6 separate regions of the Homo sapiens genome follow, and regions 2, 3, 4, 5 and 6 are each linked to region 1. The links are contacts of gene promoters, found by promoter capture Hi-C in blood cells and fetal thymus (Javierre and others, 2016). All regions are on one chromosome and are shown on one strand. The core of a region is centred on a gene start or on the middle of the fragment in contact, and the rest is flanking DNA. Distances in the headings are between cores, read along the strand shown. Region 1 holds the start of BTBD9-AS1 (BTBD9 antisense RNA 1). Region 2 overlaps ZFAND3 (zinc finger AN1-type containing 3). Region 3 has its middle 55 kb from the start of MDGA1. Region 4 has its middle 41 kb from the start of ZFAND3-DT. Region 5 holds the start of ZFAND3 (zinc finger AN1-type containing 3). Region 6 overlaps ZFAND3 (zinc finger AN1-type containing 3).

Region 1 (4,436 bases), core at 988-3,487:
TTGAAAGATAGAAAGGAGGAAGCATAAAAAAAATCATTTCCTCAATGTTAGTAAAAACATAAATTGGTTACATGACAAACATGAGGTGGTGACTATGTTAATGGTACAATGGCAAAGTTATTACAATCTTTGGAAGAAAAAAAAAATCCCATTTCTTCACAACTTTCCAACATTTTAAAATCCAAGCCCAGGCTTGAATCACTGCTTTATGAGGTAACACTCCCTTTCTGACTGCATCCGTGTGACTGGGCCACCAAGTCCCACTGATGTAGTTGGTATTACTACTGCTCAATCAACACCTCTCAGAACAACAACTTTCACTTCAGAATCCAAGCCTCAAGTTATAGGGGGCACTAAAATCTTTTTTTATTTTTATTTTTATTTTTAAAAGACAGGATCTGGCTCTGTCGCCCAGGCTAGAGTGCAGTGGCGTGATCTCGGCTCACTGCAACCTCCACCTCTCGGGCTCAAGCAATCCCGCTGCCTCAGCCTCCTGAGTAGCTGGGACTACAGGTGTGCACCACCATGCCCAGCTAACTTTTGTATTTTTGGTAGAGAAAGGGTTCCGTCATGTTGCCCAGGCTGGTCTGGAACTCCTGGGCTCAAGCGATCCTCCTGCCTCGGCCTCCCAAGGTGTGGAGATTACAGGCATGAGTCACTATGCCCAGATGAGCACTAAAATCTTTAAATAAACGCTCTTTTCTATAGACTGCTAAGAGAAATAGAAGGGAAAAAAGCAATACAATACTTAAGATTTACTGGAGAAGTACTACTGGGAATTGAGGGGAGAGTGTACTCTTTGGAAACAGATAAACGTAGCTCTGAAACCCTGCCTTGCTCCTTGCTAGCTGCATGATTCTGAGCAAGCTTCTTGATACTCAGCTTCCTCATCCATAAATACGGGGAGCAATGCACTTCCTTTGCAGGGCTCTTGTGGGCTGAGAGACAGCATGCATTCAACACTCAGAGTACCTCTCCTTTGTCGGTGCTCAATAAACAGTAGCTCATCTCTGCCATTCCTGGAGTTAAGGCAGAAGACCCACAGTACAGCACTCTGCTTAGGAGCTCTTATGAAAGTGTAGGTCAGATTGGTGCAAGTCCTGTCAAATGGGCATTGGTGGGTTACACAATCTGCTTTTAGCCTCTCATTTAAATTAAGCATGGGCCAGAACATCAAACTCTTTTCAAGAAATCAGTGCTGTAACTGGGACCCTGAGACTACCTCCATGCAAAGTAGTATATAAGTAAAAAGCTCTAATTTTGCTTGTAGCTCAGCTATAGAACACGCCAAAACCCCCCACCAAACCCACTGTTCTAAGTAATGGAAGTGTACTCTGAGAACCATCTGAAAAGAAGCCTGACAACTTGCCTGTCTTATTCCCCACCTGACCTCAATCTTTCTTCCTCTGAGTGGATGATTCCAGTGCCAGTTTTAGATCCAGTGCCTACCCAAGATTTGGCGCTTCCCAAACAGACTGTAGTGTTGGTAGACAGCATATAGCCATCACACAGGCTGACACTAAGAGATAGTGGGTATGAATGTGCGCTCTGTGCAAAATCCTCATGGGGAAGGAAGGCAACACCTGGGTACCTTTGGCAATGTAAAAATTCCCTTCTTTTAAAAATGCTCTTTAAACAAAGAGCTTTATATCTAGACTCAAAAATGCCTTTCCATCAGTATCAGCTTCTCCCAGGTAAAAGGAAGTGAAGACAGAAACAATGGAAATCCCATTGAGTAGGGAGAGGCAAAACAGAAAGGTTTATTCTAACGTGAGAGGAGCCCATGATGATGTGAAAGGGAAAGAAGAGAGAAGAATGGCATATAACCTGGAAGATTCAAGTACATTCACAGATAGATACTTTCCCAAGGTGTGCAGGAATCTAGCCCTTCTTCAAGGAGACAACCATAGCATCATATAATTCAAATTAATTCCTTTCTGAATGAGAGCTGAGTAACAAAGACAAAACTTGGCAAGATGGCACAGCACAGTGAGTGCAAAATTGTATTCCCAGTTGATACTTGGTGAGATGTTAGGTTGTCAGCTTAATGTAAAATAAAATGAGGCCGCACATCGTAAAGTGTTTTGAAAAGTAAAAATCCAAGGGAGATAGGAAGGCAGCATTTTAATGAGTCTAGAGAAAATGAATTCCAGGGTGAGCAGCTCTGCTCACGACCTCTTTTCAGTTGGTATCCCATAGGCCTCTGGGAAGCGGGGCACATGAGGGAGGGGCCAGTGCCTGCCTCCACACTACCCCCTCTCCCCTAATGAGGCTGGCAGCACCATTTGCTAGCACCTGGCAGATGAGAGAGAAAGAAAACCTGGTGTGGAGACCCCCATCCATTAAAGGCAAGAGAGTGAAAAGTGGGAGAGAAAGCTCCCAAGTTCAACAGCAGTGACCTAGGGTCATGCAGTGAGGACTTACAAAGGTATAAAAGCTTCTTTATTCAGGTGGTTCCTTTCAGCGCAACTTATTTGATGATGCTTAATGCAGGCAGTTAAAAGAACAGTTCAGTTGGATATAACTTACAGTACGTCACACAAATCTGGAGTGCCCAAGGAACATTAGTTTCAGGGAACACACTGAGATTATAACCAGCCTTTTTGCCAGGGGCAGCTTGTAACTCAGAAAGTCATGTTTCATTTAGGATGTGCTGTATAATGTTGAAGGGGAAAGTAACTATTTTGTTTTGTTGTGTTTCTTCCCAGTCCAAGAAGAAAGCATTTGGAGAAGTGCTACACATGCTCAACTGAACTTCCTGTCAAATTGTTCTCACTCGTTTGGGCACAAGTCTGCTTAAGCCATCTCTCATTAACATTTACTCTTGCCCGAAGCCCTCTACGCCCCCAACCCCTGCTAATCTTCCACAAGCAAGCTGATCACACTGGGATCTCCTTTTCCCAGACACGTTTGATTCTCACTTTCTCCTGAACCTAGAAATGTGCTTCCCACCAAAGCATGCCAGGCACTAACTCGTCCCTACTGAAAGGGGCTGTTAAAAGCTCATCTTCTTTCCAGATGGTAGTGAGGTGTGAGGTGATCCTTTCTCTTTCTTTTTTTTTTTTTTTTACTTTTAGCTACCCCTCAATTCTGGTGTTCAGTAACAATGTATTCCACTTAAAAGAGAGAAATCATATTAATTATTCTAAGATATAAACACTTAATTTTATTCATGCTCTTGAATTACTTTCCTTTCTACCGCATGTTTGTGTAGCTGTTATATGAGTCCTTTCTACTGATGTAGCTGTCATTCCTTCAACTCAGTTCTTGCCAAACACTGAGCTATGTCTGGAGATACAAAGATAACTACTCTTGTTGAAGAGATGCCAGTTTAGTGGGGGAGACAGACATGTAAACAGATCTGTATCTGAGATAGATGGCCTGGGTAGGAAAAGAATATATATAGCACAAATAACTCAGTGGACCTGCAAAAACAGAGCTTGAGGCCATGATATACCACAAAGACCCACCAAGGCACAAGCACTGTCAACATGAAGGTAAGGCTTCCATTTTTGCCTCTTTCAATCTGGGTACATCTATTCTACATACTCTGCCTTTCCTCCTGTTACAGGAAAAGAAGGAACCTCAATTCTACCTAAAGTCAATCTTCTCCTTGAGCTAGAGATCCAGCCCCTCTCCCATAATGAGGTACACGGCCCCTACAAAGATCCACTCTCCTGCATTATCAAATCCTCCCTCCCTGTGGTATCATTCCAGTCCACACACACACATACCTTAACATCATCCTCCCTTGACCCTAGGTCCCCCTCCATCCTCTTCATCATTTCTCTGCTTCCCCTCCCAGTGATACTTTATCTTCTACATGTATTGCTACCCCTATTCCCTCAGCCTCTATTCCCTTCTCCCTTGACTCCACTGAAATGGCTCTTAAAGGACGCCACTAAGCTCTATCTTGCTACAACCAGGAGTCGATTTTCTGTTACCTACTGCCCTCTCCCATCTCCCCTCCTCATACCGAAAGACTGACTTTTTAAGACTTCCATGAAAATGTTGTCCTTGTTTTCTTCCTGCCTCACTGGCAGCTCCTTCCCAGTCTCTTGTATTCACTTTTCCTTGCCCACCTGCTGTCTGGTCTTCCCTATAGTCCATTCTCACACTAGATCACACTAGAGTTATCTTTCAAAAATCTCAACTACCATCACCTGGTTTAAACCCTTCTATGGTTTCCCATCATCCTTAGAATTCGACACTATCAAGTCCCTGTAGGACATGGCTCCTGTCTATCTGTCTGCCCTCATTGCTAAACATACCTTCCTCCCAACACCCTACAGACTATCTACCCACCAGATTTCAGAAACACATGGCCTTCTTTCTGTTCCTCAAAAACCCCAAGCTAGTTTCTACTTCACAGCCTTTACTCTTGCTGTTCCCTAGCCTGGAACACTTCTCCCTTAGATTGCTGCATAGCCAAGCCA
Region 2 (4,485 bases), core at 1,930-4,429, 620 kb before region 1:
ACACCAATAGCTGGTTCAGCCTGGCACAATCAGAATATTAGGGTTGTCTTCACTGATAGACACTGGCAACTTTATGCTGGAAGAACTTCTTGGGACACTTTTCCTGGGGAGGGGATGGTAGATTGTAGGTGGTTTGTAGCAGGTACTAAGGACCTTCAAGACTTCACCAGAATGCCAACATGTGGTTGTAAGAAGGGTTATGCTTGACGTGCCGAAAGGTTAGAATAAGATTGAAAACTAGCATTGGAGTAGGCTGTGGAGTAATAGAGCTTTGAAATCCTTTTTGAGGCTTTATGTGCTTTCAAAGAGGATGGCTTCTGGCAGTGGAGAGTAGTTTTTTCCATAAAACATTTACTTTGCAAATATATAACAAAAGACTGTTTCCACCTATATGACTGAAAAATGGAGCATTGACTATAAAACACATCCTGTTATATTTTCCTGATTTGAACACAAAAGACATGTATTGCTCATCTAACACTGTGTATTTAATATTTCCTGCGTATGAGTGAAACCTGTTAAACAAGGTGAAGAAAATCTATAAAAGGTTAAGATGTTTTTAAAAACAATTTTTGGGGCAGCGTTTTGAAGACCAGTGTGTTTACTCCTTGAGGATTTATTAATGTTTAATTGGCTCTTTCGTGTTTATAGTGCTCTGCTGCAAACACCTTTTTTGATTTTACCAGTAGCTGCACTGCCATTTCTTTATACTAGAAGAGCTAGAAGATTTGCTGCCAGGGCCAGCATTGTGCATGTCGTACTTTCATGCATGTATTATTATTTTAAAAAATCCTGTGTCTGTGGGAGCAGGTCAGCTACATTTCTGATACACGTATGTTTTAGCCCTGGCTTCAACAAGGAGCAGCATGTTGTGATGTAAAGAACTTTGATTTTGGAGCCAGAAAGCCCAAGTTAGCATTTTGGCTCCACCACTTGTTAGCTTTGTTGCCTTGAATAAGACAACCTCTCTTTATTTCAATTCCATTACCTGCTTTACAGGATTGTTGAAAGGATCAAGTATGTTAATGTATATACTAGTACTTTTTAGCTGAACAGAGAAAATTTATGTTTAGATTCTATCCATCTCATTGATTCTTTCTATTAAAGACAGATGATCCTGGCACACTTTTGCTTAAATTTTATTTCAGTGTTCTGTGTTTGGCAATTTGGACTTGGCCTGTAATATCTTCTGTTGCTGAACCCTTTCTTCTCTTCATCGCTCTTCCATACCATCTGTAGCTATGATTGTCTGTAGTTGTCACCAGAGACTTTGTTGCTCTTTAAATAGTATATTGTATGTTACAAAATACATAATTTCTACCTACCAATTTTCTGATCTTATGGTCTATTTTCATATCTTATGGTCATGAGCTAAAAATTAATGTTTGCTTATTGGGGAGGGGCATGATAGCAGCAGGCTGGAGACCTTCAGGTGAGGCTTTGATTTCAGTGATAGGTGAGGATTGAATTCATGAATGGCTTGCAAATATTGTGGGACTGGCCTTGTACCTCAATCAGTTTGTGTAACATTTTAGAATGTAGTAGCTTTTCTCCATTGTCATTTGAATTTTGATGAATAATGATTTATTTTTCTGTCTTTAAAAAGGGTTTTTTTTTTTCCTGAGATAGAGTCTAGCTCTGTTGCCCAGGCTGGAGTGGGTTTTTTTTTTTTTTCTTTCTTTTTTTGAGATAGACTCTTGCTCTTGTCACCCAGGCTGGAGTGCAGTGGCGTGATCTCGGCTCACTGCAACCACCACCTCCTGGGTTTGAGTGATTCTCCTGCCTCAGCCTCCTAAGTGGCTGGGATTACAGGAGCCTGCCACTACGCCCAGCTAATTTTTTTTTTTTTTTTGTATTTTTTAGTAGACGTGGGGTTTCACCAGGTCTCGAACTCCTGACCTCAGGTGATCCACCCGCCTCGGCCTCCCAAAGTGCTGGGATTACAGGCGTGAACCACCGTGCCAGGCCAAAAAGAGTTTTTTTTTTTTTTTTTTGGAATGTACCTGTAAACCCAAAAGGACCTGAGGTAAGAAGTGGCAGTTTTATGGAGTACTTACATAGTAAAGAGGAATAATATTATAAAATATTATGGTTTTAAAATGCATGGCCTCCAGTAGTTTTTGTGGCTTATATTCAGAAGTTTGACTTAAAAAGAAATTCCAGAATTTCAAAAATTTGTTAGCCATAAGTATTTTGTGACTATGATGTTAATGAATTTGCACTCCCCCTGCTGGCTGACTTTTTAGGAAGACAGTGAGTTAGGAAAAGCAGAATCCTAATTCAGACCTGAGAATATCTGTCAAATTTTTTATTCTCTGTAGAAGTGGCTAAAGTTATAGGGGGTATCATTTTGAGTAAGAAATTGATTGCATTATGTCTTTCCTCATTTGGACTTGTTTGCAGTGATGTTTAGTGCCAAGGGGATATTCACTTAGTTTTTTTTTTTTTTTTTTTTAAGTAGGTTTAGATTTTAGTTAACACTATATACCATATATTTACTCTTCTCTGTTTGTGACGGCCACATCAGGTACCTTTTTCACCCAGTTTTTTTTTTTCAAACAGAACAACTTGTAATTTCTGTGCCTTTATTTGATCATTTATTCATTTATGGGATGTGGCTTAGTTTCTGTAAAGCACTGATAGGTGTTGAGGTGGATGTAGAAGGATGAGATATGGTACTCCATGAAGCCTTAAAGCTTCTCTGCTGGAAATCTGTACCATATGCCAGTGAAATGTTAAATAAAAATGAGAGCAATGTCTAGTTAAATAGCATAAGGCCGGGCGTGGTGGCTCACACTTGTAATCCTAGCACTTGGGAGTCCCAGGCGGGCAAATCACTTGGCAAGGAGTTCAAGACCAGCCTGGCCAACATGGTGAAACCCTGTTTTTACTAAAAATAAAAAAATTAGCCAGGCATGGTGGCACACTCTTATAATCTAAGCTACTTGGGAGGCTGAGGCATGAGAATTGCTTGAGCCTGGGAGGTGGAGGTTGCAGTGAGCCAAGATCGTGCCACTGCACTCCTGCCTGGGCGACAGAGCTAGGCTGTGTCTCAAAAAATAAAAATAAAAAAATAGCATGATGAAAGTAAACAGTTTGATTTCAAAGATGAGAAAGGCTATCATAGTGTTGTAGATAAAGTGGGTATCAAGAGTGACTAGAAAAGGACACTGAAGAAATGATGTGGTCTAGGTAGACAGGAGCGGGGAGGAAAAGGACAGGCATTCCAGGCTGAGGGGACAACATGATAAAAAAGACGAGTAGGAAATTAGTGTAATTTATTAAGGGTACAGTGAAAAAAGAACTGTTTCAGGGGCTTTACGTACTTACTTGATTTGATCCCAGCATTAATCTTCTGGTGTGGTATGAGTGTCTACATTTCACAGGTGAAGAAAGTAAGACTTACAGGGGTTAAAACTATTATGAAATATTATGAAAGAATTATGAAACTTCTAGGTTTTCATCCTCCATATATCTGGCTGCAAATAAGTCTGTGCTCCTCTAGCAATAACTTCAGAGAGAGTTGGTTAGTACCACAGAGCCTTATGTATTATGATGTGTGGTTTTCACACTCCAAAATTTACTTAGAAATACTTCTTTTTAAGCATTACATATGGATAACTGGAGCTTTATTCTAATATTTCACTGTTTTTAGAGCCTTGTAAGCTTATTGAACTATTTCAAGTAGAAATAGAAAATATGTTGTATGTGTTTTGCTGCTCTGCATCATAAGCATTTTCTTATAATCTTTCCCAGTGTTGTCACTGATGCAAATGGAATAATTGATTCATAACATTCTTTCTTATTAAGTTGGGCTATGACTTCAGAATTATTTTTTAAAAATGTGCTCAAAGAGGAAATAGCCTAAGAAAATTTTATTTTTTAAGTTATGTTTTGATTTCTGTTTACTTTTTTATATGTTTACTTTTTATTGAATTTTTTAATGTTAAAAAATTTAATTTTTAAGTTATATTTTGATTTTTGTTGTTTTTTAACCATATGTTTACTTTTTATTGAATTTATTAATATTGCAAAGTTCTTGCACTGCCAAACCATGCCTAAGAATTCAAAGAAAGAAATGGTACAGTAGACGGCCTCATTCACCCATCATACAGTATCTTAAAACTTGATTCATGTACATTTTGATATTTTCATAGTCTTTTAAGAAGTTATAACGAGTTGGAATTTAAATCTGCTGCAGGGGCTGAGCACAGTGGCTCATGGCTATAATCCCAGCACCTTGGGAGGCTGAGGCTGGAGGATTGCTTGAGCCCAGGAGTTGAGACCTGGGTGACATAGTGAGACCCTATCTTTCCAAAAAAAAAAAAAAGAAAAAGCAGGCATGGTGGTGCTTGCCTATAGGCTCAGCTACTCAGGAGGTTGAGGTGGGCGGGCTCACTTGAGCTCACTCAGGAGGCTTGAGCTGGGGAGGTCAAGGCTGCAATGAGCTGTGATCGTGCCACAACACTCCAGCCTGGGTGACAG
Region 3 (4,728 bases), core at 1,627-4,126, 730 kb before region 1:
GAAGGTGCCCACTGCAAATCTAGAAGGAAAGACGTGGAGAAACTTTTGAGCCTTTGGAAGCAATATTCTTTTTTTTTTTTTTTTTTTTTTTTTGAGACGGAGTCTCGCTCTGTCGCCCAGGCTGGAGTGCAGTGGCGCAATCTCAGCTCACTGCAAGCTCCGCTTCCCGGGTTCACGCCATTCTCCTGCCTCAGCCTCCCGAGTAGCTGGGACTACAGGCGCCCGCCACCGCGCCCGGCTAATTTTTTGTATTTTTAGTAGAGACGGGGTTTCACCTTGTTAGCCAGGATGGTCTTGATCTCCTGACCTCATGATCCACCCGCCTCGGCCTCCCAAAGTGCTGGGATTACAGGCGTGAGCCACCGCGCCCGGCCGGAAGCAATATTCTTAAGACTGGTCAGGACCAGCAGAGACAGAAGCTTCCTTGAGATTAGAGGTGAGGACAAACTGGAACACAAAAGGTGAGTCACAGGGGGGCCAGTCACCTACATCAGCCATTCAAATACCTAATGTGAATTGAGCATTTCCTACCTGTGAGGCCCTGTGGGCTAAGCGCTTTAGGGGCATAAGCACATTTAAACATTTTAACAACTCTGTGGGGCAGATACTATCATCAGCCCTAATTCACAGATGATAAAACTGAGGCTCAGAAATGTTAATTCACTTGCCCAACACATCATGCCCAGCATCTGACCCTTTGTCATCTGACTCCACAGTCTGTGCCTTAATGCATCCCCACTGTCACTGTGGAGGGGGAAAGGCCGCACCGGGAAAAGGAATAGCAGTTCTGGGGGGTTCATAAAACCCTAGCCTCTGAGAAACCGTAACATTTGACACTTCTAGTTTGAGGGTACTGGGGGAGTGTGGGCTGGGAATCTAGAAAGATGGGGGTGATATCTTCTGTGACTGCCATCACGCTGTCCTTCCAGGCCAACCCATCTATGGGACCTGCCTGGCCCGAAGTCACTGAGACCCCCAAAGCCTCGGGCTTGCCTCTTCTGAGATCAGGATCTCCTCTGCTCTCCCCACCCCCTTCAGGTCCTGCTCTGGGTCCTTCCACATCTCCTTTCCTCTCCTTCTCCATCTTCTATCCAGCCCATAATTGGGTGGTCTAGTGCCAAGAGATCAGACCCCAGGGCAGAGGTCCAGGGGCTTGGGACACTGCTGTTTCCTTGGAAAAGAAGTCGGGGAGGAGAGGACTGTCTACAGCCAGTGTCCCCAATGAACCTCACGTATTACAGCCTAAAAGAATACTTTTGAATTGGGGAGGGGAATAAAAGAGGAAGTCGATAACTTGGAAAGGATTTTGTGATTGATTGTCTCATTCCCCAGTCCCAAACTAACATCAGCTAAACACTTGCACAACCCCTCACCAGTATCTAAGCCCGTCCTATATGAGCTCCAACCCGGGGCCTTCGTCCAGCCTCCGTTCCAGTGCTCATTCTTGGCCAAGGCCAAGCCAAGCTTCCGCAATCTCCTGGGACCTCAGTGACTTTCCCAGTGGATTTTAATTACCTGACAAAAGTAATGCCAATATTTATAAGGGAACAAACACAGATACCATAAATAAATACATTACTGACTCATTGAATTAATTAGTGTTTAATTACTTGAAATTACTGTCAGTTACTACCAATTACCTGAACAACAAATGCATTCTTTCTCTATTACCAATGGCAGTTTTCGGAGTGAAACCCAGAGACCTTGGGCTGTAGGAAGAGACCTCAGGCCATATTAGCTCTCACCTGGCCCCTCCCCACTACTGCCTCCCTCTTTTGGTCACTCATTCACTCCTCGAGCACACATTTATTGAGCATTTATGATATACCAGTCATTGTTCTAGGCACTGGGGATGCATTCATAAACAAAACAGACAAAATCCCCAGCTTTGTGGAGCTTACAATCCAGTGAGTAAGGAAAAAAATTATGGATATTTTAAGAAGATGTTAAGTGGTATACAGAAAAACAAGCAGGAGCTGGGCATGTTGGCTCATGCCTGTAATCCCAGCTACTCCGGAGGCTGAGGTGGGAGGATCGCTTGAGCCCAAGAATTAGAGACCAGCCTGGGCAACATAGCAAGATCCCATCTCAAAAAAAGAGAGAAATAAGGAAGAGGGATGGAGTACTGGGGGTTTAAATAATGTGGTCACTATTCAGGTGATGACCTGGACATCCTTCCTTTGCCCCCTCCAGACCCACTCTCTACTCTTCTTCACCCAGGTCTGTGCCCTGGGAGGCTGGCCTGCATGGACGGCATCACCCAGCTCCCTGCCCTCTGGCTTCCATGGAATTCAGCCAGTGGGGAGTCCCCGAGAAGCCCGGAAGCAGAGGGTGGATGCTTCCCTTGACCAAGGATCTCAGCCTCTATCAGGTCACCCTTTCCAGGCAGCCCTTTTTATTTTGGGATTCTCTAATAGCTGCCTCCCACAACCTCCCCATCCTGTCTGGCCTTGCAACAGCTGCACCCACCCTTCTTGAACCCCCTCCCCAGTCAATTGCCTGGGGGTCCTGCACTATCCCTGTGGGTTCCAAACCCCCTGCCCACACCTGTGTAGACTCTCCTCACAGGATCTGAATCTATGTGGCCTGCTTTCTGCTGTGACCTGGCAGATAGAGATGGCTTCCTTGGTGAGGTGACTCTGGAGCAGAGGTCTGAAGAAGGGGAGGCACAAACACGTGGCTATCTGTGAGGAAAGCGTCCCAACCACAGGAACAGCAAGTGCCAAAGCCAGAGGCCAGACTGTGCTTGGCATCTTTGTGGCTGGAGCACAGCGTGAGGGAAGAGCCATGGAGGCAAAGCCAGCGAGCAGGCAGGGGCACGTGGGGGGCCTGGCCAGAGACCAGGCAGGGGCGCGTGGGGGGCCTGGCCAGGGAGCGGGCAGGGGCGCGTGGGGGGCCTGGCCAAGGAGCGGGCAGGGGCGCGTGGGGGGCCTGGCCAGGGAGCGGGCAGGGGCGTGTGGGGGGCCTGGCCAAGGAGCGGGCAGGGGCGCGTGGGGGGCCTGGCCAGGGAGCGGGCAGGGGCGCGTGGGGGGCCTGGCCAAGGAGCGGGCAGAGGCACGTGGGGGGCCTGGCCAGGGAGCGGGCAGGGGGGCACGCGGGCCTGGCCAGGGAGCGGGCAGGGGGGCACGCGGGCCTGGCCAGAGAGCGGGCAGGGGGGCACGGGGGCCTGGCCAGAGAGCAGGCAGGGGCGTGTGGGGGGGCCTGGCCAGGGAGCGGGGGGTGGCCTGGGAGGCATTGCAAGGACCCAGGCTTTCCTCTGAGAGAAAGAAACCCCTTGTGGCATTTCAAATGGCAAAGTGACTTGGTCAACACACACTGAAAAGGGTCACTCTGGTGGCTCTGTTGAAAACGGACTGTCATGGGAGAGACATCTGGGAACTGCAGTCATCTGGCAGTGGATTAGACCAGCGGGTGGGAGTCGTGGAGCTGGTGAGATACATAGGTTGAGGTGGAACCAAAGGATTCGCTAGTGCATTAGAGTGAAAGAAAGGAGCTGTGGCCCCAGAGCAGTGACTCACGCCTGTAATCTCAGCACTTTGGGAGACTGAGATGTGCAGATCACCTGAGGTCAGGAGTTCGAGACCAACCTGGCCAACATGGCGAAACCCCATCTCTACTAAAAATACAAAAATAAGCCGGGTGTGGTAGCACGTGCCTGTAATCCCAGCTACTAGGGAGGCTGAGGCAGGAGAATCGCTTGAACCTAGGAGGCGGAGGTTGCAATGAGCTGAGATGACACCACTGCACTCCAGCCTGAGTGACAGAGCGAGACTCTTATCTCAAAAAAATAAATAAATAAAAAGAAAAAGCAAAAAAGAAAGGAGCTGTGGATGACAACCAAGGGTTTTGGCCTGAGCCACTGGAAGGCTTTACTGAGATGGGGAAGACTATGGGAGAGGCAGTTTTCACAGAAGATCCAGAGTTCAAGTCCGAACATGTCAACCAGAGGCACAGCGGAGAATGTGGCGGTGCATCCCAGGCGTTGGGAGGTCAGCCCACTACCTGGCCCCGAATGCACGCAGCTCCCAAGTCTCCCCAGCTGGGCAAAGACACTCTGACTTCTCCTCCCATCCTCTCCTGCCCCCTTCCCTGTTGGAAGTTCTCCCTCCACTCTAACTGAAATTCCCTCTCTCCTTGGACCAGCCCCTTCTGCTCCCCATTGAATGGCCAAGTGCCCAGATACAGCTGCATTTAGGAACAGGGAAGGAGAAGAAAATAAGGAACCCAGAAGATTCCTGCCTGGGTAGAGTGGAAGGCAGTGGGGTTGTTTTCCTCTCCTGGCAACTTAAGAAGCTTGTACCAAAAAATAAATGTGGAGTGAGAGTAACCCCAATCTCACTTGGGTCAGAGTAATCAAAATGTAATTGGGTTTGTGAATAACTAATGTTTACCCTGATGTTGTCCTAATAGGATGATGAGACCTGTAGATGTGACTCTGCCATCTCTGCTCCGTGAGAAACATGGGTTTTCACAGAAACTGGGTCAGGCAGCAGGAGATGGGGAGAGAAGTCACTGTGCTGAGCTAGATGACCGGGACAGCGGGAGGCTCAGGAGAGTCTCTGGGCAGAGGCAAGGAGGCCGCCATTTGGGGAACTGAGTGTCTAGGAGAGAAGTTTTGCCCTGGAATAATGATAACTATGATCATCATTGTATGTGCCACTTATTAAACACCCACTATGTACCATATACTTAACATGTATCCCTACGGTAACCTAGTGAGGTGACTCT
Region 4 (4,748 bases), core at 621-3,120, 700 kb before region 1:
TTTTGTATTTTTTGTAGAGATGGGGTTTCACCAAGTTGGCCAGGCTGGTCTTGAACTCCTGACCTCAACTGATCTGCTCACCTTAGCCTCCCAAAGTGCTGGGATTACAGGCATGAGCCACCGCACCCGGTCCTCTGAGTCTTCTGTGCCTGATTCTAGCTGTGCCTCAATGCTCTTTGTTCCTCTATCCTCTTCCCACCTCTTCTTTCCTCTCTTCACTCCCTCCTATCTCCCCACTCCCACCACACCCTGACACCATGCTCCTGCCAGTCAGTGAATCTCGGGAGCTGCCATAGTGCCCCCAACTCCCCTCTTACCTCTGGCTTGTCGTCCCCGCCCCCTTGATCTCACCCGCAGTTCAAGGGCTGAACTGAGTGGGCATGAGCACGAAGGCTGTTGTCCGCAGGCCGGGGGCCTATCATCTCCTGAGCCTGTCTTTATGTAAAAGGCTGGTATTCGGTTCTTCATTGTATTAGTTTCTTATTGCTGCTGTCGTAAATTACCACAAACCTAGTGCCTTAAAACAACACAAGTTTATTAGTTCCCAGTTCTGTAAGTCACAGTCTGACACCGGTCTCACTGAGCTAAAAACAAGGTGTCAGCAGGACTTCATTTCCTTCTGGAGGCTCTGGGGGAACATCTGCTTTCTCGCCTTTTCTAGTTTCCAGAGGTTGCTTGCAGTCCTTGGCAGTGGCCTCCAAACGTCTTCAAAGCCAGGCGAGTCTTTCTCACACCATACTTCTCTGACTCTACTTCCGCCATGACATTTCTTTCCCCGATTCCAACTCTTCTGCCGCCCTCTTCTGCTTTTAAGGACCCTTATGATTACATTGGCTCCACCTGGACAACTCAGGCTCCTCCCCCTACCTCAAGGTCTGCTGATTAGCAACCTTTCTTCCGCCTGCACCCGATCTCCCCTTTGCCATATAATTTAGCATATTCACGAATTTTAGAGCACGTAGACCTCTTCAGGAGGGGGGCATCATTCTGCCCGCCACAATCACAGATCTTGTTTTGCATTAATTTTGATTTTTAAAACTAGCTCATTCAAGTATTAAGTCTCTTAATTGCTGAGTTTTTTGGCACCCCTAAAATTTGATGCCTGAGGTGAGTGAGGCACCCTCATCCAGGCCCTGTCTATCTTTCTTTCTTGGCCCACCCCTTCCATCCTCAAGCCCAGCCCAGCCAAGCATCTTGCACCTCAGGCTGCCCAGGATCCAGCCAAGTTCTGCAGGTGGTTTCCCAACCGCATGCATTTCTCTGCTCCGGTTTCAGAAGTGGGGGCTCAGGCTCTCAGGCTGCCGAGTCAAAGATGGGAAGAGAAAATGTTCGATTTCTCCTGGGCCCCAGGGAGGAGTCAGGCCCCAGTCACTAGACACCTGATCCTCCCCTCGTGGCTGCAGAGACAGCAGCCTTAAGGCTGGCCACAAGCAGCGGGGCCTGAAGCTGGAGGAGCGGGGAGGAGAGTTGAAAGAGGATCCTAGCACTGCTTGAAGGTCATGGGCAGCCAGCGGGTGTCTGGGCCACCACAGTGGGGGATACTGGAAAGCTGATGTGGCTCTCACACTGGAGAGGCCCCTGGGAGGTAGAGGGCGTGATTCCCAGCCATCCTAGCAATGTCACAAAGGAGACTGCTGTGTTGTGGGGGGACGGGGGAAGACTGGGAGGGGAGAGGAAAACTGGGAGAGGAGTGGGTCTTCCTGAGGCTGTGGGGGAAGGGGAGTGGCTACCAAACATTCTGCAATGGAGACAGTGCGTACCTGAGTTCTCAGGAAGGTGGGGAGGGGGTGGTAGAAGGAGAAGGGCAAGTAGAACCAGCATGCCGCCGTAACTTACACCTCTCCATGAGCCTGCAAAGCCACCCTCATGGGGAGGCCATGCACTTGAGACCCTACCCTTACATAAAACTTTCAAGTCCCCAGAGCACCTCAACATTCTCATCTGATTCCCACAACCCCAGGAGGCAGGCAGGAGCACCCCCATTTTACAGATGAGGAGGCTCCATGCAGTGACTTCCCACTTTCATCATGGCTCAGAGAGCCCCCACATCTCCCAGCTCCTCCTCTTTGCCTCCTGGCTTCTCTTCCTAGAAGGAAAGGGAGTGTGATGGAGAAAACTGGGGAAGAGGTGAGGGTCCCTGGGCCAGATAAGAGACAAACACCACCACCATTGCCACCCCTAACAACAAAGTGTCTGACTCCAGGAGTTACTGTGCAGGAAAATGCCAAGCTCAACACATCCTCCTGGAGTCAGCACTCCACGGAACTGGCATGAGGATTTTAGGGGCTCCTCCCCTACTGTCCTCCATCCATAACTGCTCAGAACTGCCTGGTGCCCCCTTGCTACCCACATCCACCACTACTGAGGGCCAGACTGTGGGGTCCAGTGTCACTGGTTAAGGCTCCTGTCACCCCATCCCCTGGGGCAAAGGTTGGGCCAGATGCCTCCTCCTTCTACCCTCTGGGTCTCCCTCACCACCTGCTTCAGGGGCCCCTCACTTTCCCAGAGAATGCCCCAGAGATGGAGTTCCCCACTCAGGCCCACAGGCCTACAGACCTCATCTTGCTGGCAGGGCACATTGAGGAAGGGGGTTTCAGAAAAGGTGGTTTCTCTGAATACATTGTGCCCACTCCTTCACTTCATTTTATAGCACTGTACCCAGAGCACTGCCAGCCACATGGCAGGGACTTGGCAAATACAGTATTGATTAATTTACTTCTCTCTCCCTGCCGTGGCAGAGACCCCAGGAAGAATTTGCCCCCTCAAGTGGTCTTGGGGGCAGGCTCAGATATTCAGAAGGTGATGGGATCTCCCTGGGTCCTGCCAGCATGGAAAGCCCTCCTTATGTGCCCAGCATGGCCTGGTGGGAGGCAGCAAGATGGACAAGCTGCCCTCAGAGGCAGGCATGACTGGCAGCTCCCATCAGCAGCTGCCGGTGTTCTCAATGAAGTGAGGTGATAGAGGAGGTCTCCCTTCTCCCTCCCTGCCCCAGGGCTGGCTGGGCCCTCTAAATGTGTCAAATGAGAACCAGGTGCAAATTAAGTGACTGAGGCACAAAGGCATTGAAGTTGGTATTTCCCATCCGAGGTACTGAGGCAAGGTCACTGGGAATCATTAACAGGTGGAGAGAGGGAGGAAGTGGGGCTATTCAGACAGAGGCTGAGAGGCCAGAGGGAAAAGGGTAGGGTGGAGGGGGAGGGAAGAAGGGAAATTTGCACACCATGAAAGGGGAGGGGAGAGAAGAGACTTGGCCCCAGTACCCTCAGTGGGTGAGCTTGGCATGGCCGCCTTGAGGCTGAGGGCTGCCTGTGCTCTGGAGCAGGTGGGGCGGTTTGTAGCATGAACAGAGGTTTCTCTGATCCTCCAGCTGCCTGGATCCCTTATTGCCCAGGGGTGGTGGCCTGGGAGGCTGCCCAGAAGGGCTGGTGACCTGAGGGGCTGGAGGTCCTGGGCCAGGCCCCCCAAGGTCATGCCAGCTGGCCCTCCCCTGGGCCCAATCAGAGGCTTGGAGTGCACAGCTGCCAACTTATGACTCAGAGGACCTGAGTAATTGACCCACAACTAATCACTAATGGTTTGCATATTTTGCATTTACTTTACATTCTCCTGGGGGTCTCTCTGCAATCACTCCCTACAGGCCCCTCCCCCTGCCCCCATCCCCCGTCCTTCTGTCTCCCTGCTATTTCCTCCAGGCCCAGACCCACAGACCCCCATCTCCTGTCCCTGCTCTCTCACCTGGGATCAGATAGGGCAGGTCATGGGTGGGAACATCCAAACTCCATCCTCTCTGACTTGAGGGCGCAGCAAGGGCAGCTAGGGGCACCTTGGGAGTGGCCAAGATCTGTCTGATAATTAATCTTCCTGCTAATGGAGGCTTCTCTGCCATCAGGGCTTTTAAGGAAACTCAGGGAAGTCCTTTAGTGCCATCAGCGCTGTCTCTGAGGTCCATAGGGGGCTCATTAGCAGCCCTCCACCTCACAGTTAGTGGCCCCTCCTCCAAATGGCTGCAGGAAGGGAGGAGAGCAGCCCAAGGCCCTGAGTGGAACTACTGCAGCCTGAACTGCTTCCCCACTACACCCCCCGCCAAATCTCTGAAGTGGAGTGAAGCGGCTCCTGCCTCTCTTCCAAAGTACTCCCCTTAGCTAGAAAGGACCTATCCTAGACAAGGAAAGCAAGGTCCAGAGAGGCTGAGTGATTTGCCCGAGGCCACCCAGGCAGCGGGACAAGCTGAACTGCAGTCGGCTGTAACCTCCTAACCTCAGGTCTCCTCTACCTCCATCCCTAACATGGGGAAAGGCAGCCCTTTCTCCAAGGGCTTTGGAAGGCAGGCAGGCCACTGATCCAGTTGGGACTGACCCCCAGGCCAGAGGCCAAATGGGATGACCCCTGGGAGTTTCCCATCATCCCAGGATGCTGGGGTTCTTTAGTACATTGAACCAGACCTCTTTCACTTTCAGGACAGGCTGTAAAGCTCTCCATTGTTTGTCACAGCAGTTTAAGGCCAAAGAGGCCTCTCTCAGTGAGAAATCAGGTGCAGAGTGGGGTGGTGGGCAGCAGCCCTTTTGGGGCTGCCCAAAAGGAAGGATCGGGCACAGAGGGCTGCAGTTTCCACCTATTCTACAAACAGGAGCACCCCCCTGAGCTAGACCCTCTGCTGGGTGTGAGAAGTCCCAGGAGTGAAAGAGACGTGTTTTACTTTCAGTAAATAACTGATCAAAATGGATGGAGTGATTTGCAGCAAATCTTTT
Region 5 (4,454 bases), core at 1,052-3,551, 660 kb before region 1:
TAACTGGCAAACAGGAAAGCAGTTTGGAAAATGACAATCACTTTTTATGTTGAATTCTCCTTTTAGTTGTCGAGTTTCCTTTTCTGTACATAAAAGAAAATCATCAAGATGCCAAGAGAGATAATCCCACTTAATCTTTGTTAAACTCAAAGGCTGTTAAGTATCTCACGCATGTGGGAATTTTATGTCGGCTTAAATGAAGATTTAAGGGTAATATGAATCCAATGAGAGCAAGGTGTGCTGTATGGCTTTATCCTTTCTATGCATTTTTTCTTTCTTTCTTTCTTTTTTTGAGACAGAGTTTCGCTCTCGCTCTTGTTGCCCAGGCTGGAGTGCAATGGCATGATCTCGGCTCACTGCAACACCCGCCCTCCGGGTTCAAGCGATTCTCCTGCCTCAGCCTCCCAAGTAGCTGGGATTACACGCGTGCCACCATGCCCGGCTAAGTTTTTGTATTTTTTTTTTAACTAGCGACGGGGTTTCACCATGTTAGCCAAGCTGGTCTCGAACTCCTGACCTCAGGTGATCCACCCGTCTTGGCCTCCCAAAGTGCTGGGATTACAGACGTGAGCCACAGCGTCCGGCTTTTTCTATGCACTTTCTTACAGATATACTTATTGAAGGCTTTGGAAAATCCACCAAATTAAAACTAAACATTGTGCATAATAAATCAGCACTCACATTTTAGGGTGTTTTGGCTTTAAGTGCTTGATTTTTGCAATCATTAACTTCACCATCAACAGCATCTGTGGCATATTAAGCTAAATGCGATCCTTGCTCTTTAGAGGCCAAAATAAACATCAATGTTAACAAACCCACACAGTATGCACAAACAGAAATGTGATTTGGTATATAAAGAAATAAGATAGCAACATTTGGTAATCAAATTAATCTAGGTAATAGTCTCTCTGAGGCTCTGATATACCCGACAGGCAAGGAGGGTATACGGCAGCTATTCCTAAGAGCCAGGAAGTCTTCCTCAGCGATGGGTCTCCAAAAGGTCTGGAGGATGTTGCCTCCGTGTTGAATTAGTCATCAATAATCGATTTCTCTGTTCATGACTAACTGGAGATCAGAATGAGCTCAGGATCAAGGACTAGGATCGTTAAAGGACTCATTTTTTTAGTGTCTCAAACTTCTTTGGTCACTTACCAATTTCCATTACTGATTCAGCTACAGCTCCCCTTTCCCCTCCAAAAACCAAACGTGTCAGCTGTAGGAAGAAGTGCGGCTCTCCTAGCCTGGGCATAGGGACTCGCCTGGGCATAGATAATGTACTTGTGGCTCTGTGGTTGGGAGTGGAGACAAGGAACTCCCCAACACCGGTGGGGGAGAAGAGACAAGGAAGTTGCCCCAGACAAGGGGCTGGGGGAGGGGCATTTCCCAAAAGTTCCTGTCAAGAGACCAGTATACCGGGTGGAACTATAAGAGTTGTTTGGGTGTGGCGGGACCAGGAAGAGAGAGAGAGATGCCCAGGGAGTTGGCAAATTGGGGAGAATGGCTCCCCGGAATCGCCCAGGAGCCAGAGCGGCAGCTCCAGGGACCTTGACTCCGACGCCCCCGGGAAGCCAGAGCTCCACTTCCGCGTTTGGCATTGCTCCCCCAGGCCCCTCCTCGCACTCGGTTACGGGTTCTACGGGCGCATGCGCCGCCACTCTGGGACTGGCCCAATTTACCCTACACAACTAATCTGCTCCTCCCCCTCCCGCTTGGAGCGCACCATTCGCGTTTAGGGGGAGGCACCGCGCCCCGGAGTACTCAGAAACCTGCTCCCCTTCTTCAGACAGGGGGAAGATAAGTTTGCTTCAGATTCTAAAAGTTCTAAGAATACGAAGGCCTCAGCCGCCCGTCGCCGGGCGACAGCCCGAGGCTCTCGTTTTCTCCCACAGCCCCGCACTCCGCCTTTGAGGCGCGGAACGAAGTGGCACGCCCGGATCCCAGCTGATCAGCGGCTGGGCTTTGGCGTTGGCTCCCCCGGGCGAGACCATTGTGACTCCTCGGGAGGGGCGCACGCCGGGGAGGGGGCGGAGCGGCCATTGTCCGGTCAGCGCAGCCTCCGGGGGAGGGGACGGTGTTACGGAGACAGCAGGGCCCGGGGCTTCAGAGCGGCCGCTGCGACTCCGGAGCCGGCGGGGGGCTCCGGTCCTTCCCTGCGCCACCGCACAGGACATCTCTCTGGCTGGGGAGCGGCGGTGAGACCCGCCGAGGGCGTCTGTGTCCCTCCTCCCCCGCGGTCCTCGGTGCGTCCGCACGCCCCTCCTCCTCGGCTCCCTCCTTCTTCTCTCCGCGCCTCTCCGCCCCCTCCCCGTCTCCGCAGGCCGAGTGGTGCGGCCCGCCTCCAGCTGACCGGCCTGGAATCCCGGCTCCGAGCCCCGGACTCGCGCCCGCCCGCGCGCCCGCTCCTTCCCCCTCCCCCCGCCCCGAGCCCCCCGACGCCGCCGCCACCGCCTCCTCAGAGCGGGGCCCGGGCCCAGCCGCCGCCACCGCTGCCGCCGCCGAGCTCCGCCGCCGCCGAGCACCATGGGAGACGCTGGGAGCGAGCGCAGCAAAGCGCCCAGCCTGCCGCCTCGCTGTCCCTGCGGCTTCTGGGGGTAAGTGCCCGGCCGGGTGGGGGCGGGGGGCGGGGGCCGGGGGCGCAGACGCCAGGGCAGCCTGGGCAGGCCTCGGGGCCCGGGAGGCCGGAACCTTGGAGGCTGGGCCCAGCCCGGGCCTACGGGGAGGGGGTGGGGGTCGCGTTCCGGGGAGGGGTGCCGGGTGGGGAGCTGGGGGTGGGCAGAGAAGGCCCTGCCGGGGGTGCGTTGCTACCCTTTGGGACTCGCCGGCCTGAAGCTCGGGCCCACGGGGGCCTCCTGGGCCACGGGTGAGGGGGGCAGGGCGGCGGGGAGGGATGAGGGGGCGGCGTTGACCGCTCCGGGAGGAGCAGGGGTGCCCCTTCCGTGGGCATGTGGAAGCCAGCCCTTCCTCCCTCCCGGGGCGTGAGTTGGTGCCCAGGCACTAGGAGGGTATTTCCTCTGACTTCTTCACCTCCCCTCCTCCCCGTCCTCCGGAGACTTGCATCATCACTTCCTAGATTATATCCCAGTGCCCCATTTGCTTTTAGGAAGCTATTCACACGTCACCCGTTTGTAAAAACCGAGTCCAGAACCAGGCTGGGGTAAAGTTATAAGATTGTTGAGGTCTCACCTTCATGTAAAACACGTTTCAGGAGATATGTAAAATTTCCTTGTCAAAAAGGAAGAAAAAAACCACACAAAACCTGAAGTCAGCCTGGATTGGGGAATATGAGATCCAGTTTCCTCAGTTGGCTCTCAAATTCTCCTCTTTCTCAATTTAAGTAAAAATGATAAAAATGTTGACAGTGGGTAGCATATATTGTTTGGCCATCATGTGTTAAGGCGAAAAAAATGTGAGGTGGGAAATCAGCTCCTCTTCCTCCCCCCATTACTGTTTAAATTCTCCTGGTAACACTTTAAGCTTCATGGATTGCCACCTAACAGGTGCCTCCATCATACCACATGACTGTAGTTCTGCAGTAAGAAAGCTGGAGACTTTGAAGGCTGGCTTTTGTGATTTGAGTCCCTTTTCTCTTTTATCGTTTTGTTTTAGTTTTATTTTTTGAGAGATTCCGTATATTTGGAGACATAGAGGCAGGAAGGAAGATTGTTTCTGGTGAGGACATCTTGGGAAGAAGTATGGAAGTAGTTTTCCCTTTGCTATCTCCCATATTGTAGGAATGGTTAACAGAAATTAAGAGTAATTTTGGGAGTGCAGAGAAAGATTAGAAAGTGGATCTTAATGTAGACTTCTGTGGAAGTTGTCGTATCTCAAGGTTATGACAAAGAAGTGGATTTTCATTTTCTCATTTTTCTGCCTTTCTCAAAAATTTCCCTGTGGAAGGACATTAGTCAAAAATAAGTTGTGGCATATAAAAAGTCCTAAAAATGTGAAAATATTTCTAGTCTTCCCTTCATTTTGATTTGAAAATAATTGGTTTGCCTGTGAAGTGCTTTCATGGACTGTCTAATTCCCACAAGAATCTTGCGAGGTAGGAACCATTATCTCATTATTAGCTGGGGAAACTGAGGCTTTGGGTGGATAATTTGCCGCTTCACACAGGGAGTGTAGGGTGGAGCTGGTGAGCTCTTTAGAGTGCGTAGTACCATCATGTTTATGGTATCAGTCTGCTGCCCTGGAAAAATCTTGTGTCACAAGCCTCAGATTGTAACTCATTGTAAGACATATGTCCTAAAGAAAGTCGCTGCCAGTGGCAGCTAATGCTCAGGATGTATCAGGTCTCTTTCCTGGCAACACGTTTATGTCCTTCGGACTGTTACCATGAATGGAATCTTTATCGAAAGACTTATATCAAGGCTTAGAAACTAAGGAAATGGAATAGCCTTTTACCTTTATTTATTTATTTATTTTTGAGTCGGAGCCCTGCTCTGTTGCCCAGG
Region 6 (4,249 bases), core at 1,285-3,784, 600 kb before region 1:
GTGTTAGCAAAAGTATTACTCTTTGTTTGTTTGCCATGTAGGCAGTCCAACCTCCCCTGAAATAGAAATGACTAGTAATGATTTGTTTCTTGTCAGTATGAGGTAGACCACACGAAGCCCCTCCCCGTAGGCTCTTCAGATTCTGTTTATTTTGGGGGCAGTAGTCAAATCAGAAGCATGATATAGCCGCCCCCCCAATTCTCTTCCTCCTTCCCTTTGCCCAAGGATAGGATACTTGTTAAGGTTAGGGCTCCCAGGCCTAGGGTCCCTTTGATGCTTGAAAGGATTGCATGGCAAGCTATGTTTTTCTGGATTAGTCCTAGGGTTTAGTCCCTGCTACACACACTGCTGCTATACTTCCCCCTTGGAGAAGGAAATGAATGTAATTCCCATATAATTGGGAAATGCCAACCTCACTGGTCTGTGCCCCTCCCAATCCCCACCACCCCCATTTGTTTGGTTTGGAGTGTTTGTGCCCCCCACCCTTCCACCCTTTTGGATATTAGAGATGTGGGCCATGGCCAGACTAGGTTAGCCCACTACCTGGTCTGGGCTGCATACAAAGATAATGAACAGGGAGTAGCTGGCCACTTCTTTTGGCATTTCTTTACAGAAATCCTCTTTGTTTCTATGTCTGTTCACTGTGGGACTTTGGAATTTCTTTGTGTTTATCCCATAAACATTTTCTCTTGCTCAGGACATTCCAGTGGTTGCTTAATGTTTCTCTAGTACCATCCAGTGTATGGCTATATTTAAAACATGTAGCCTGGGTGCATTGTCTCATGCCTATAATCCTAGCACTTTGAGAGGCCAAGGCAGAAGAATCATTTGAGGCCAGGAGTTCAAGACCAGCCTGGGCAACATAGTGAGACCCCTTCTCTACAAAAAAATTTAAAAACAATTAGCTCGGTATAGAGTTGTGCACCTGTAGTCCTAGCCACTTGGGAGGCTACATTGGGAAGATCCCTTGAGCCCAGGAGTTTGAGGTTGCAGTGAACTATGATCACGCCACTGCTCTACAGCCTGGGTGACAGAATGAGACTCTTTTTGTACAAAAACACAAACAAAACTAAAGCATCTTACAGTCCTAGTTAATAAAGTCAATAAAGTGAGTCACACATAGTACAAGCAGTGTACAAAGCACATCCAGAGAGTAAGTTTAGCATCCTAAGATAGTTTTATCTTACTGTACCAGCAATATTGTCACAGTAAAGAGAATTAACATTGGATGGCCCCCACCCCCTACCCTTCGCTGTTGAACGTATAGAAAGTACCCAGACTACAAATGAGTTTTGTTTGCAGATATTTTAAATAATGAAGACTGTAGAAATCTACCCCATATTTAAATGATGTATACCTTTTCTTTTCTTTCTTTCTTTTTTTTTTTTGAGACGGAGTCTCGCTCTGTTGCCCAGGCTGGAGTGCAGCGGCACAATCTTGGCTCACTGCAACCTCTGCCTCCTGGGTTCAAGCAATTCTCTGCCTCAGCCTCCTGAGTAGCTGGGATTACAGGTGCCCGCCACCATGCCTGGCTAATTTTTGTATTTTTAGTAGAGACAAGGTTTCACCATCTTGGTCAGGCTGGTCTTGAACTCCTGACCTCATGATCCACCTGTCTCGGCCTCCCAAAGTGCTGGGATTACAGGCGTGAGCCGCCGTGCCCGGCTTGATGGATACCTTTTCATTATCTATTTCCCTTTCTCCCGTCCACCTAACTAGTTCATAATGTATGTTCAGGAGATTCGCCAGGCCTGGGAACCTTTAGCCAGAGTTTCTGAAGGTTATAGTCATCCTTGGTGGAGAAAACTTGGATGACCAAGAGCTTTACAAGGGCCCTAGAGCTCCTGGGTAGGGAAAGATGTCTAGAGTTCTGATGTATGTGTAGCTCTTATAATAGAGATTGATTTTTAACTTGATCACATGGAAGTGGGAGATTAGAATGGTTTTGATATTGTTTGAGTCTAATCAGGGCTTTACAAGTGATTGAAAATGAAATATACCTTGATTCAGGAAAGTGAGAATTGAGAATTACGTCAGGTGGCTGGATGCGGTGGCTCACGCCTGTAATCCCAGCACTTTGGGCGGCTGAGGTGGGTGGATCACCTGAGGTCGAGAGTTTGAGACCAGCCTGGCCAACACAGAGAAACCTTATCTTTACTAAAAAATACAAAATTAGCCAGGCGTGGTGGCGCATGCCTGTAATCCCAGCTACTTGGGAGGCTGAGGCAGGAGAACCACTTGAACCTGGGAGGCGGAGATTGCGGTGAGCCAAGATCGCGCCATTGCACTCCAGCCTGGGCAAAAAGAGCGAAACTCTAGCTCAAAAAAAAAAAAAAAAAAAAAAAAAGAATTACATCAGGTAAGTTTGCATGTCTTTTGAGAGATTGTTAGGCTGTAATTCCAGTGTGGCTTCAAGCTCCAGACCAAAATACCAATGAAATACTCTAGACCAAAAGGCCAAATGAAAATCATTTGTCATTTATCTGCTACTCTAAATATCAAGTGGCAGGGCAAGATTACCAACAAGTACATTAGATTGTAGGGTCATTCCAGGTATGCAGTGATGTCACTCAGAACGCTTTTCTGAGAGATGTGAATGAAGAAGAAAAATTATCAGTGGATTCCTCAAGTTGCTGTTGCATAGAGAACATTTATCATACTTCAGTCACTCTAGCCCTTGCCAGATAGGACTAGTTTCCAAATCCACATGTGAATTTTGGGTTGGAATTTTGAATTCATCTATATTTTCCCTCCACCTTCAAATTCCATTTCTGATGGAAATGAGATGAGTAAATCTAACAAGGCTCTTGTAACAGACATCCACATGATTGTTTTCAGAAATCTAGTTTTCGAGCCTCTTTCTTCCAACAGTACCATCATTGCTCAGAATGTCTTGGGGGCCTCTTGAATCTGTACTCAGGTACTGAAGAGCATCTCTGGTGGCCAATCATCTTTTGGAGCTTGTATTTGTCTTTGGGTGGGAGAAATGATTAACATGTTTTTTAGAGACAAGATTGGGAAAAAAGGGGTGGGTAATTGTCAAGTTGAAGGATACTAAAGGTCTCTATTGAGGTGACTATAAAGAGCAATGAAAAGAATATTTCCAGAGATTTGGAGTCACAAGACTTGTGTGACCTTGGTTTCCTCATCCCTAGGAATACATTTATATGGTTTATAAATGAAGATCTGGGCTAGACGCGGTGGCTCACGTCTGTAATCCCAGCACTCTGGGGGGCTGTGGAGGGCAGATTAACTGAGGTCAGGAGTTAGAGACCAGCCTGGCCAACATGGTGAAACCCCGTTTCTTCTAAAAATACAAAAATTAGCCAGGTGTGGTGGCATACGCCTGTAATCCCAGCTACTTGAGAGACTGAGGCAGGAGAATTGCTTGAGCCTGGGAGGCGGAGGTTGCAGTGAGCTGAGATCGTGCCACTGCACTCTAGCCTGGCTGACAGAGCAAGACTCTGTCTCAAAATAAATAAATAAAAATAGATGTAGAGCTGAAGACAGTTCTGAAGAATTTCAACCTTATTTGAGTAATGGTGTTGATGTCCAAAATTATTTCCTTGAGATTACTCCTTTAAAAGACAGCACTTAATTGGGCATAGAATTTGTTTGCTTGGGGAGAGGGGCAGAAAAAGTCAGTATACTTTGCCAACTCCTAGGCTCAAGTGATCCTCCTGCCTCAGCCTCCCAAAGTGCTGGGATTACACGTGTGAGCCCAGCCAGAAGTCAGTATACTTCTGAGCGGAAGCAACTGAACAACTATTTTAAGTTCGAACAGGCCAGGTGCGGTGGCTTATGCCAGTAATCCCAGCACTTTGGGAAGCTGAGGTGGGTGGATCACTTGAGGTCAGGAGTTCGAGACCAGCCTGGCCAAAATGGTGAAACCCCATCTCTATTAAAAATACAAAAACCAGCCGGGCGTGGAGGCAGGTGCCTGTAGTCCCAGCTATTCAGGAGGCTGTGGCAGGAGAATTGCTTGAACCCAGGAGGTGGAGGTTGCAGTGAGCTGAGATTGCGCCACTGCACTCCAGCCTAGGCTACAGAGCGAGACTCTGTCTCAAAAAAAAAAAAAAAAAAAAAAAAAAAAAAAAAAAAAAAAAAAAGTTCAAAGAATATGCTGTTACTCAACCTTGATTACTACAACCAACCTTAATGACAAAGAAACCAATGGTAGGTTTAAATTCAGTAATGTGATCTTAGGTAAATCACTTGTGCATCTCTGGGCCTCAGTTTTCTGTCTGTA

The links. The method cuts DNA at HindIII sites, captures the fragments that hold promoters and counts their contacts. A CHiCAGO score of 5 or more calls a contact.
Region 2: a contact is called between a fragment that was not itself captured here and the fragment with the promoter of BTBD9-AS1 in region 1, in 1 of 17 cell types (M2 macrophages). The highest score is 6.6, in M2 macrophages.
Region 3: a fragment that was not itself captured here is called in contact with the fragment with the promoter of BTBD9-AS1 in region 1 in 3 of 17 cell types (erythroblasts, fetal thymus and naive CD8 T cells); the score reaches 6.8 in erythroblasts.
Region 4: a contact is called between a fragment that was not itself captured here and the fragment with the promoter of BTBD9-AS1 in region 1, in 5 of 17 cell types (total CD4 T cells, endothelial precursors, fetal thymus and 2 more). The highest score is 7.6, in total CD4 T cells.
Region 5: a contact is called between the fragment with the promoter of ZFAND3 here and the fragment with the promoter of BTBD9-AS1 in region 1, in 1 of 17 cell types (M1 macrophages). The highest score is 6.2, in M1 macrophages.
Region 6: a contact is called between a fragment that was not itself captured here and the fragment with the promoter of BTBD9-AS1 in region 1, in 1 of 17 cell types (M1 macrophages). The highest score is 6.5, in M1 macrophages.

What each region holds. Positions count from the first base shown.
Region 1 is chr6:38,479,359-38,483,794 of GRCh38, forward strand. BTBD9-AS1 (BTBD9 antisense RNA 1) reads left to right here and starts at 2,238. Exons shown (of 2, transcript NR_144472.1): 1 at 2,238-2,428; 2 at 2,709-3,169. All of the region lies in intron 6 of BTBD9 (BTB domain containing 9), which reads right to left. The HindIII fragment of the contact is 1,570 bases long and covers 866-2,435 here.
Region 2 is chr6:37,858,203-37,862,687 of GRCh38, forward strand. All of the region lies in intron 1 of ZFAND3 (zinc finger AN1-type containing 3), which reads left to right. Among named protein-coding and RNA genes, the nearest start is that of ZFAND3, 41 kb to the left of the region's middle. The HindIII fragment of the contact is 970 bases long and covers 2,695-3,664 here.
Region 3 is chr6:37,750,871-37,755,598 of GRCh38, forward strand. No RefSeq gene overlaps it. Among named protein-coding and RNA genes, the nearest start is that of MDGA1, 55 kb to the left of the region's middle. The HindIII fragment of the contact is 2,829 bases long and covers 1,463-4,291 here.
Region 4 is chr6:37,776,136-37,780,883 of GRCh38, forward strand. No RefSeq gene overlaps it. Among named protein-coding and RNA genes, the nearest start is that of ZFAND3-DT, 41 kb to the right of the region's middle. RefSeq lists enhancers at 316-866, 934-1,865, 1,460-1,529. The HindIII fragment of the contact is 7,839 bases long and covers 1-4,748 here.
Region 5 is chr6:37,817,426-37,821,879 of GRCh38, forward strand. It overlaps ZFAND3 (zinc finger AN1-type containing 3), which reads left to right and starts at 2,302. Exons shown (of 6, transcript NM_021943.3): 1 at 2,302-2,591. The coding sequence starts at 2,521. It overlaps ZFAND3-DT (ZFAND3 divergent transcript), which reads right to left and starts at 1,962. Exons shown (of 2, transcript XR_007059569.1): 1 at 1,153-1,962; 2 at 1-1,065. RefSeq lists enhancers at 1,509-1,898, 1,868-2,670 and silencers at 1,949-2,328, 2,369-2,598, 2,759-2,928. The HindIII fragment of the contact is 21,540 bases long and covers 1-3,472 here.
Region 6 is chr6:37,882,173-37,886,421 of GRCh38, forward strand. The region is part of intron 1 of ZFAND3 (zinc finger AN1-type containing 3); the gene reads left to right. Among named protein-coding and RNA genes, the nearest start is that of ZFAND3, 65 kb to the left of the region's middle. The HindIII fragment of the contact is 9,022 bases long and covers 1-4,249 here.